2 separate regions of the Homo sapiens genome follow, and region 2 is linked to region 1. Evidence: promoter capture Hi-C in human tissues and cell types (Jung and others, 2019). All regions are on one chromosome and are shown on one strand. Each heading gives the region's core, a stretch centred on a gene start or on the middle of the fragment in contact. The rest is flanking DNA. Distances are from core to core; before and after follow the strand shown. Region 1 holds the start of ABCB5 (ATP binding cassette subfamily B member 5). Region 2 overlaps LOC105375180 (a long non-coding RNA gene).

The links. The method cuts DNA at HindIII sites, captures the fragments that hold promoters and counts their contacts. A contact is called where the count stands out against the background at its distance.
Region 2: a contact is called between a fragment that was not itself captured here and the fragment with the promoter of ABCB5 in region 1, in 1 of the 25 tissues and cell types used here (pancreas).

Annotation. Positions count from the first base shown.
Region 1 is chr7:20,613,277-20,618,350 of GRCh38, forward strand. It overlaps ABCB5 (ATP binding cassette subfamily B member 5), which reads left to right and starts at 2,391. Exons shown (of 28, transcript NM_001163941.2): 1 at 2,391-2,561. The HindIII fragment of the contact is 19,814 bases long and covers 1-5,074 here.
Region 2 is chr7:19,590,714-19,595,787 of GRCh38, forward strand. The region is part of intron 3 of LOC105375180 (a long non-coding RNA gene); the gene reads left to right. Among named protein-coding and RNA genes, the nearest start is that of MIR3146, 110 kb to the right of the region's middle. The HindIII fragment of the contact is 4,832 bases long and covers 1-4,544 here.

The DNA.
Region 1 (5,074 bases), core at 1,141-3,640:
CAAAGAAAACAAGCAACAAAATGAAAAAGGGCCAGTCGTGGTGGCTCACACCTGTAATTCCAGTACTTTGGGAGACTGAGGCAGGCGGATTACGTGAGGTCAGGAGCTCGAGACCATCCTGGCCAACATGGTGAAACCCCATCCCTACAGAGTGAGACATTCTGCCTGGGCAACAGAGCAAGACTCCATTTCAAGAAAATAAAATAAAAGACAATCTACACAATGGAAGAAAATATTTGCAAACCACATTTTGAATAATGCGTTAACACCCAAAGTATATAAGAAACTCATACAACTCAATAACAAAAAGACAAATAACCCCATTTAAAAGTAGGCAAAGACCCAAATAGATATTTTTTCCCAAATAAGACATACAAACAGCCAACAGGTACATGAAAAGGTGCTCAACATCAGTAATCATCAGAGAAATACAAATAAAAAACACAATGGGATATCACCTTCTAGCTTTAGAATGGCTATTATAAAAAAGATAAGAGGTAACAGGGGTATGGAAAAAGGGAACCTTGTGCACTTTTGGTGGGAATGTCAATTGGTACTGCCATTATGGAAAAGAGCATCAAGTTTCCTAAAAAAATTAAAAACAGAATTGCCATCTGATCCAGCAATCTCACTTCTAGGTATATACCCCAAGGAAATGAAATCAGTATTTCAAAGAGGTATCTGCACTCCCCTGTCCATTGCGGCATTATTCTCACCAGCCAATATATGGAAACAACCAAAGTGTCCATTGACACATGAATCGATAAAGAAAAGCAATATTATTCAGTCATAAAAAAGAAGGGAACTTTGTCATTTGTGACAACGTGGATGGAACTGGAAGACATTATGTTGTGTGAAATAAGCCAGAGATATGTGTGAAATCCAAAAAAAGTCAAACTCCTAGAAGCAGACAGTAGCATGGTGGTTACCAGAGACTAGGAGGTGGAGGAAATGGGGAGATGTTGGTCAAAGGGTACAAACTTCCAGTTATAAGATGGGTACAGGATGGTGACTACAGTTAATAATTCTGTATTGTATATTTGAAATTTGCTAAGAGAGTAGATCTTAAGCGTTCTCACCAGACACGCACACACACAAACACGTAAATATGTGAAGTGATGGATGTGCTCATTGCAGTAATCATTTCACAATGTATATGTATATCACATCATCATGTTGTAAACCTTAAATATAGACAATAGTATTTGTCAATTATACATATTAAAGCTGAATAAATAAAATAAATTAATTAAAATTATATAAAACTCAAAATTCAGCTCCCTCACTAGGCACATTAAAAGCGCTCAATAGCCACATATGTGTAGCGGCTAGGATATTGGATGTGTGGAGAATATCTCAATTATTGCAGAAAGTTCTGTTGGATGGCTCTGCTCTAGAAGTAACACTTTTAGCTACATTACACCACTTCTGTGCATTTAGATGACATCATGAGATTTTTAAAGCAAAATTAATTATTCCTTCTGTGCATATGACAATTGCAAGTTTATCTCTAGGTTGGCAATTTTCCTAATTATTAGTGCCACATTTACATCTGTTTGCCAGATATTTTCACTTGGACACCAATATCAACCCAAATTTGCATATTTAAACTGAATGTTACCATTTCCCCAAAACCAATTCTGTCTCATAACTTCTCTATTACCATCTTTACTACTCTTTTGTTACAACTTTTAAAAGTTTGATCGCTGAACTTATATTTTTTTTATTTCTTCTTCCTTGTCCTCTTTACCTACCTACCGCCTTAAAAATACCTCTCAAATAGTCTTACTTACTGCTATCAAACTAGATTTTAATGAGTCTACTTAAATCTTGTGTTTCCCCAAGTCCTTCCAGTATATCCATGGCTGTAATGTCAAATAATCAGGTTAATTGTACCAAATACCAATGGCTTTGTCTCTTTCATTCCAGAAAATTATAAAAGTTGTCCTAAAAATTGGTTCAGTGCCTTTTACAATCGTATGTACCTTATCTCTCTCTCCATTTCTGCATGAACAGTCCATCCTATCCAAACCGTTCTCATTTCTCTACCATGAGATAATTCACCTTGCATTCCTAAAACTATGCCCTTGTTCCTCCTCCACATTTTTCTACTTACTGAAACCTTAGCCTTCCTCCAGAAACTAACCTCAGGGCCATCCTCATCTGTGGGCGAAACCATTTTAGATCACAATGTTCTTCCTCAGTCTTCTTAGATACTAGAATAGTCACTCTTTGTACTATTCATCACATAACGTCTGTCTTGCCAGGTATATTAGGTTCCCCTAGAGAAATAGAATCAATAGGCCGTGTGTGTGTGTGTGTGTGTGTGTGTGTGTGTGTGTGTATGTAGAGAGAGAAAGAGAAAACACGCTCATGTAATTGTGGTGACTGGCACTTCCAAAATCCACAAGCCAGACTAGAAGGCTGGAAATTCTGGCAAAAAATTGATACCTTGTATCTGAAAGCTTTATCCTATCCTCTTCAGAAGACTTCAGTCTTTTCTCTTAAGGACTTCAACTGACTGGATGGGGCCCACTCAAAACAGCATCTAAGGAATTAAAGTAAGTCAAAGCAAAAGTATTAGAGATTATGAAAACAATTGAAGCTTGTGAAGAATATAAAACACTTCTCCATCTTAGAAAGAATAGTTTGTGGTAAAGATGGAAACAAAAATGTGTGTGTATGAAACTTTTTCATAGTCAGAAATGATCATCCTACTATTATTTTGGTCATTTTAAAGCATCCATACAATTCATATCTTCTTTCTTTCTTTCCCTGTGACAGGGTCTCACTCTGTCACCCAGGCTGGAGTGCAGTGGCACGATGTTGGCTCACTGCAACCTCCGCCTCCAGGGTTCAAGAGATTTTCCTGGCTCAGCCTTCTGAGTAGCTGGGATTGCAGGTGCCCAGCACCATGCCCAGCTAATTTTTTTATTTTTAGTAGAGATGGGGTTTCACCTTGTTGGACAGGCTGGTCTCGAACTCCTGACCTCAGATGATCCAGCCGCCTTGGCCTCCCAAAGTGCTGGGATTACAGGCATGAGCCACTGCGCCCAGCCATATCTTCTTTCATCTAACCAAAGATCCCATGTTTTCCATCCAACCAGTATATCTTAGCTATTTGTCAGATTATTCTTACCAAGGATGCTTGAACGTTAAGTGCATCTCATGATTTCTTCTCACATGGGTATTTTGTCCTATGATTTCCATCTTGGTACATGAACCTAGAAATATTTTTTAAGGCAAAAGTCCTTATAAATAAAATATTCTGTCTATTTTTACATTTTCTTGTATGTTCCATAGTACTTGCCATGATAGCATCCACACAGCTGTCAATAAGTAAGAATTGGCTGACTGATAGATTTTGTGTAGAGCAATTAAGATGTTCAGAGTTCTTCTCTCATGTTATCTACTTAGTGCTGGATATTACTACCTGATTATCTCACAAATATCTCAAACTTGACAAGTTTCAAGTTAAATTTATCTTCCTTTTGAAACATTGGGTAACAGAGAGGAACATGGGGGCAGCCATCATAGTCAACCTGTAGCTTTCCATACAGTGAGGACCTGCCAACTGGCTCACAAATTGCTTTGACCTTGTGTCGCTTTGTCTCAGTGCACTTTTCTCTACTATCTAAATAGTATTCCTTCTGCCTGGGATAGTCTTTTTGATCTTTATATAGCAACCTCCTTTTATAATTCAGATTGCAGCTTAAACATTATCTTCTACAAGGGGCTTTCTCTGACCAGATGTATATAAATACCACATTACTCTTCATAAAATTACCCTGTTTTAATTATATACCAAAAACTGACCACTCTCTAATTTTCCTTATTTATGTATGCCTTTTTTTAAAATTGTGACTCTCCCTGTAATGGAGTCTAAGCTCTATGACAGCAAAGATGTCTAGGCTGTTCAGTGCTTAAAACAGTACCTGGCACAGTATATATCTATAGAATGAGTAAATTTTTTTAAAAAATCATCTAATGAGCTTGTTTAAAATGTAGATTTTTTTCCAGTGCATTTCTTTAGATTATCATTCAGTACATGTGGGGCAAGGCCTAGGTAGGTGTCTGATATCTTTAACATGCACTCCAGGTGATTCTGATGCCAGAGGTCCTTTGACAATACTTTAAAACTGTGCTATTAACAGCAGATAAAAACAATATGTTGTCAGCACTAAGGTGTATTTTAAACTTTATTTTTATAATCTTGGATTTAGGAAGATAAAATTTCCTCTAGATAAGTAGTGCCTTCTGTTTCTCAAGGCTTTGTGCTAGATACTATATAGTCATGTTTCTCAAAATTTGATATGCATTACAAACCACTTCGACAATCTTGTTAAAATGCAGATTCTATTCAGAAGTTTTAGAGTGAGACCCAAAAATCGCATTTTTATAATGGATTAAAAATATATAATCTAACTGTATGCTGTCAATAAGAGAATCATTTTAGATCTAAAGGCAAATAGGTTAAAATCAAAAGGATAAAAAGAGATAATCCTGCAAATATTAACCAAAAGAGAGCTGGAATGGTTATAGTAATATCCAGACAAGTTACACCTCAAGTCAAAACCTTTTATAAGAGACAACAAAGAACATTAGATAGTGATAAAACAGTCAAATCACCAAGAAGATATAACAACTATAAGCACACAGCCACAAAATATCACAGCTCCTAAATAAACACTGACAGAAGCAGAGAGAAATAAAAACTTCTGTAATAATGGTTAGAAACTTTAAGATTACCCTTTTTTGCTAACAGCTTTATTGAGATATAATTCACATATCATAGAATGTACCCATTTAAGATGTACAATTCAAAAGTTTTTGTATATTCATAGAGTTGAGCAGCCATCACCACATTCAATTTATAGTGGTTTTATCATCTTGAAAAGAAACCCTGTATCCCTCTCATTAGCTGTCATCTCTATTTCTCCTCCACCCAGCAACTACTAACTTACTTTTTTCTCTATGGATTTGCCTGCTCTAGGCACTTCATATTAATGGAATTATATAGTATGTTGTCTTTCGTGATTGGGTTATTGTACTTACCATAATACTTTCAAGGTTT
Region 2 (5,074 bases), core at 879-3,378, 1.0 Mb before region 1:
TCACTGTGGTTTTGATTTGCGTCTCTCTAATGATCAGTGATATTGAGCTATTTTTCAGATGCTTGTTGGCTGCATGTATGTCTTCTTTTGAAAAGTGTCCGTTCATGTCCTTTGCACACTTTTTAATAGAGTTGCTCGTTTTTTTCTTGTAAATTATTTTAGGTTTCTTATGGATTCTGGTTATTACACCTTTATCAGATACCTAGTTTGCAAATATGTTCTCCCATTCTGTAGGTTGTCTGTTCATTCTATTGATAATTTCCTTTGCTGTGCAGAAGCTCTTTTATTTAATTAGATCCCATTTGTCATTTTGTGGTTTTGTTGCAATTGCTTTTGGCATCTTCATCATGAAATCTTTGCTCATTCCTATGTCCTGAATAGTATTGCCTAGGTTGTCTTTCAGGGTTTTTATAGTTTTGGGCTTTACATTTAAGTCTTTGATCCATCTTGAGTTAGTTTTTGTATATGGTATAGGAAGGGGTCCAGTTTCAATCTTCTGCATATGGCTAGCCAGTTATTCCAGCATCATTTTTTGAATAGGAAGTCCTTTACCCATTGCTTGTTTTTATCAGGTTTGTCAAAGATCAGCTAGTTGTAGATGTGCAGCCTTATTGCTGCATTCTTTATTCTGTTCCATTGGTCTATGTGTCTGTTTTTGTACCAATACTATGATATTTTGTTTACCAAAGGTCTGTAATATAGTTTGAAGTCAAGTAGCACAATGACTGTAGCTTTGTTCTTTTTGCTTATGATTGACTTGGCTATTAGGATTGCCTTGGCTATTAGGGCTCTTTTTTGTTTCTATGTGAATTGTAAAATAGTGTTTTTCTAGTTCTGTGAAGAATTTGAATGGTAGTGTAATAGGAATGGTATTGAATCTATTAATCATTTTGGGCAGTATGACCATTTTTACAATATTGATTCTTCCTATCCATGAGCAAAGAATGTTTTTCCATTTGTTTGTGTCATCTCTGGTTTCTTTGAGCCATGTTTTGTAGTTCTCCTTGTAGAGATCTTTTACCTTCTTGGTTAGCTGTATTCTTAGGTATTTTATTATTTTTGTGGCAATTTTAAATGAGATTGCATTCCTGATTTGGATCTTGGCTTGACTGTTGTTGGTGTATAAGAATATTACTGACTTTTGCACATTGATTTTGTATCCTGAGGCTTTGCTGAAGTTATCAGCTTAAAAAGCTTTTGGGCTGAGACTGTGGGGTTTTCTAGCTATAGGATCATGTTGTCTGCAAACAGGGATAGTTTGACTTCCTTTCTTCCTACTGGGATGCCTTTATTTCTTTCTCTTGCCTGATTGTCCTGACCAGGACTTCCAATACCATGTTGAATAGGAGTGATAAGAAAGGGTATTCTTGTCTTATTCCAGTTTTCAAGGGGATTGCTTCCAGCTTTTGCCCATTCAGTATGATGTTGGCTGTGGGTTTGTTATAGGTGGCTCTTATTACTTTGAGGTATGTTCCTTCAATACCTAGATTATTGACAGTTTTTAACATGAAGGGATATGGGATTTTATCAAAAGCCTTTTCTGCATCTATTGAGATAATCATGTGGTTTTTGTCTTTACTGGTGTTTATGTGATGAATCACATTTATTGATTTGCAGATGTTGAACCAACCTTGCATCCCAGGGATAAAGCCAAATTGATCATGGTGGATAAGCTTTTTGATGTGCTTCTGGATTTGGTTTGCAAGTATTTTGTTGAGTACTTTGCATCAATGTTCATCAAGAGTATTTGCCTGAAATTTTTGTTGTTGTTGTGTCTCTGTCAGGTTTTGGTAGCAGTGTGATGCTAGTTTTGTAGCATAAGTTAGGGAGGAATTCCTTCTCTTCAATTTTTTGGAGTAGTTTCAGCATGAATGGTACCAGCTTTTCTTTGTATATCTGGTAGAATTCATCTGTGAATCCATGTGGTCTTGGGCTTTTTTTGTTGGTAGGCTATTTATTACTGACTCAATTTTAAAGCTAATTATTGGTCTGTTCAGGGATTCAGTTTCTTCCTGGTTGAGTCTTAGGAGGCTATGCATATCCAGGAATTTATTCATTTCTTCTAGACTTTATGGTTTGTGTAAATAGAGGTATTCATAATAGTCTGTGATGGTTATTTGTATTTCTCTGTGGTCAGTGGTAATCTCCCCTTTGTTGTTTCTGGTTGTGTTTATTTGAATCTCTGTTTTCCTCTTTATTAATCTAGCTAGAAGTCTAACTATTTTATTCATTTAAAAAAACAGCTCCTGGATTCATTAGTCTTTTGAATGGTTTTTAATATCTCTATCTTCTTCAGTTCAGCTCTGATTTTGGGTTTTTCTTGTCTGCTGCTAGCTTTGGAATTTGTTTGCTCTTGGTTCTCTAGTTCTTTAATTGTGATGTTAAGTTAACTTGAGAAATTTCTAACTTTTTGATGTGGGCATTTAGTGCTATAAATTTCCCTCTTAACACTGCCTTAGCTGTGTCCCAGAGATTCTGGTATGATGTAACTTTCTTTTTATTAGTTTCAAAGAACTTGTTGATTTCTGTCTTAAATTCAGTATTTACACAAAAGTCATTTAGAAGCAAGTTATTCAATATTCCATGAAATTGCATGGTTCTGAGTGAATTTCCTAGTCTTGACTTCTAATTTGATTGTTCTGGGGTCTGAGAGATTGTTTGTTATAATTTCAGTTTTTTTGCATTTGCTGAGGAGTGTTTTACTTCTGAATAGGTGATCAATTTTAGAATATGTGCCGTGTAACTATAAGAAGAATGTATATTCTGTTGTTTTGGAGTAGAGAGTTGTGTATATATCTCTCAGGTCCATTTGGTCCAGTGCTAAGTTCAGGTCCTGAATATCTGTTAATTTTCTGTCTCAACAATCTGCCTAATATTGTCAGTGGGGTGTTAAATTTTCCCACTATTATTGTGTGGGAATCTAAGTCTCTTTGAAGGTCTTTAAGAACTTGCTTTATTAATATGGGTGCTCCTGTATTGGGTGCATATATGTTTTGGATAGTTAGATTTTCTTATTGAATTGAACCCTTTACCGTTATGTAATGCCCTTCGTTACTTTTTTATCTTTTTTGGTATAAAGTCTGCTTTGTCAGAAACTAGAATTGCAATCCCTGCTTTTTTCTGGTTTCCATTTGCTTGGTAGATTTTCTTCCATCCCTTTATTTTAAAGCTGTGTGTCATTGCATGTGAGATGGGTCTCCTGTAGACAGTATACCAGTGGGTCTGGGTTCTTTATCCACCTTGCTATTCTCTGTCTTTTAATTAAGGCATTTAGCCCATTTACATTTAAGGTTAGTATAGATATGTGTGGATTTGATCTTGTCATCATGATGTTAGCTGGTTATTTTGCAGACTTGTTTATGTGGTTGCTTTATAGTTTCACTGGTCTGTGTATTTTAGTGTGTTTTTAAAGTGTCTGGTAACAGTCTCCTTTTCATATGTAGTGCTTCCTTCAGGAGCTCTTGTAAGGCAGGTCTGGTGGTAATGATTTCCCTCAGCATTTGTTTGGCTGAAAAAGGTCTTATTTCTCCTTCACTTATGAAGCTTAGTTTGGGTGGATATGAAATTCTGCATTGTAATTTCTTTAAGAATGTTGAATGTTGATCCTCAATCTCTTCTGGCTTGTTGGGTTTCTGCTGAGAGGTCTGCTGTTAGTCCGATGGGCTTCCCTTTGTAAGTGACCTTTCTCTCTAGATGCCTTTAACATTCTTTTCCTTTCATTTTAACCTTGAAGAATCTGATGATTATGTGTCTTGAGGATGATCTTCTGTGAAGTATCTTACTGGGGTTTTCTGCATTTCCTGAATTTGAATGTTTGCCTCTCTAGCTAGATTGGGGAACTACTCATGCATGTTGTCTTGAAATATGTTTTCCACGTTGGCTGCGTTCTTCCCATCTCTTACAGGGACACCAATGAGTCGTAGATTCAGCCTCTTTACATAATCCCATATTTCTTGAAGGTTTCGTTCATTCCTTTACAATTCTTCTTTGTCTATTGTTGTGTAACTGCCTTATTTCAGAAAGCCAGCCTGCAAGCTCTGCGATCTTTCCTCCACTTGGTCTATACTGCTATTAATACTTGTGATTGCCTTATGAAATTTTTATAGTGTGTTTTTCAGCTCTGTTAGGTCAGTCACATTCTTTTCTGTACTGGCTGTTTTGTCTGTCAGCTCCTACATTGTTTTATCATGATTTTCATCTTCCTTGCATTGGGTTTCAACATACTCTTGTACCTCAGTGATCTTCATTGCTATCCATATTCTGAATTCTATTTGTCATTTCAGCCACCTCAACCTCGTTCAAAACCCTTGCTGGAGAGGAGATATGGTCATTTGGAGAAAGGATGGCACTCTGGCTTTTTGAGTTTTCAGGAATCTTATGCTGATTCTTCCTCATCTTTGTGGGGTTATCTATCTTCAATCTTTGAAGTTTCTGACCTTTAGATTTTTTTTTCTTTTATCCTATCTGATGACCTTGAGGGTTTGATTGTGGTATAAGGTGAATTCAGCCAGCTTCATTTCTGGAAGATTTTAGGGGGCCAACACTCAGCTCCCAACTCCTGGACTGCATGCTGTAAGTCTTGGGGACTTGTACTGGACCCCAACTTTGTTTCTATGTCTCTTGAAGTCTGAAATCCACTGAACTGTGGGTGGAAGGAGTGGAGGTGCGGTAGCTGTGGCAGAGTGCTAGTGGGTGTCAGGGTGCCTGCCTTCCTGAGGGCATTCACCACAGTGGCAGAAACAATGCTGCTGGGGGTGGGGTAGGAGACTATGGGTGTGGTCATGCTGGAGGTGGCGTTGACTTGGAAGTGGGGTGCTCATGGATACAGGTCTGGGTGCCTTCTCTGTGCCCTGCAAGCAGAAGTGATTGCTCAGGGTGAGGGAGAATCCACTGTTCTGAGCAGTGTTAGTGCAAGGGTGGGGTGCTGGTGGGGTTGAGGCTTTCTGGCTCTGTGTTGCCAAGGCTCTGTCTGCAATGACAGTCGGCAGGGGGTAGACTGCTGGACTGCTGGCAGGGCAAGGAAAGCAAAACCTGCCTGTGCAGACATGCACATGCAAAGTGATGTGGATAGTTG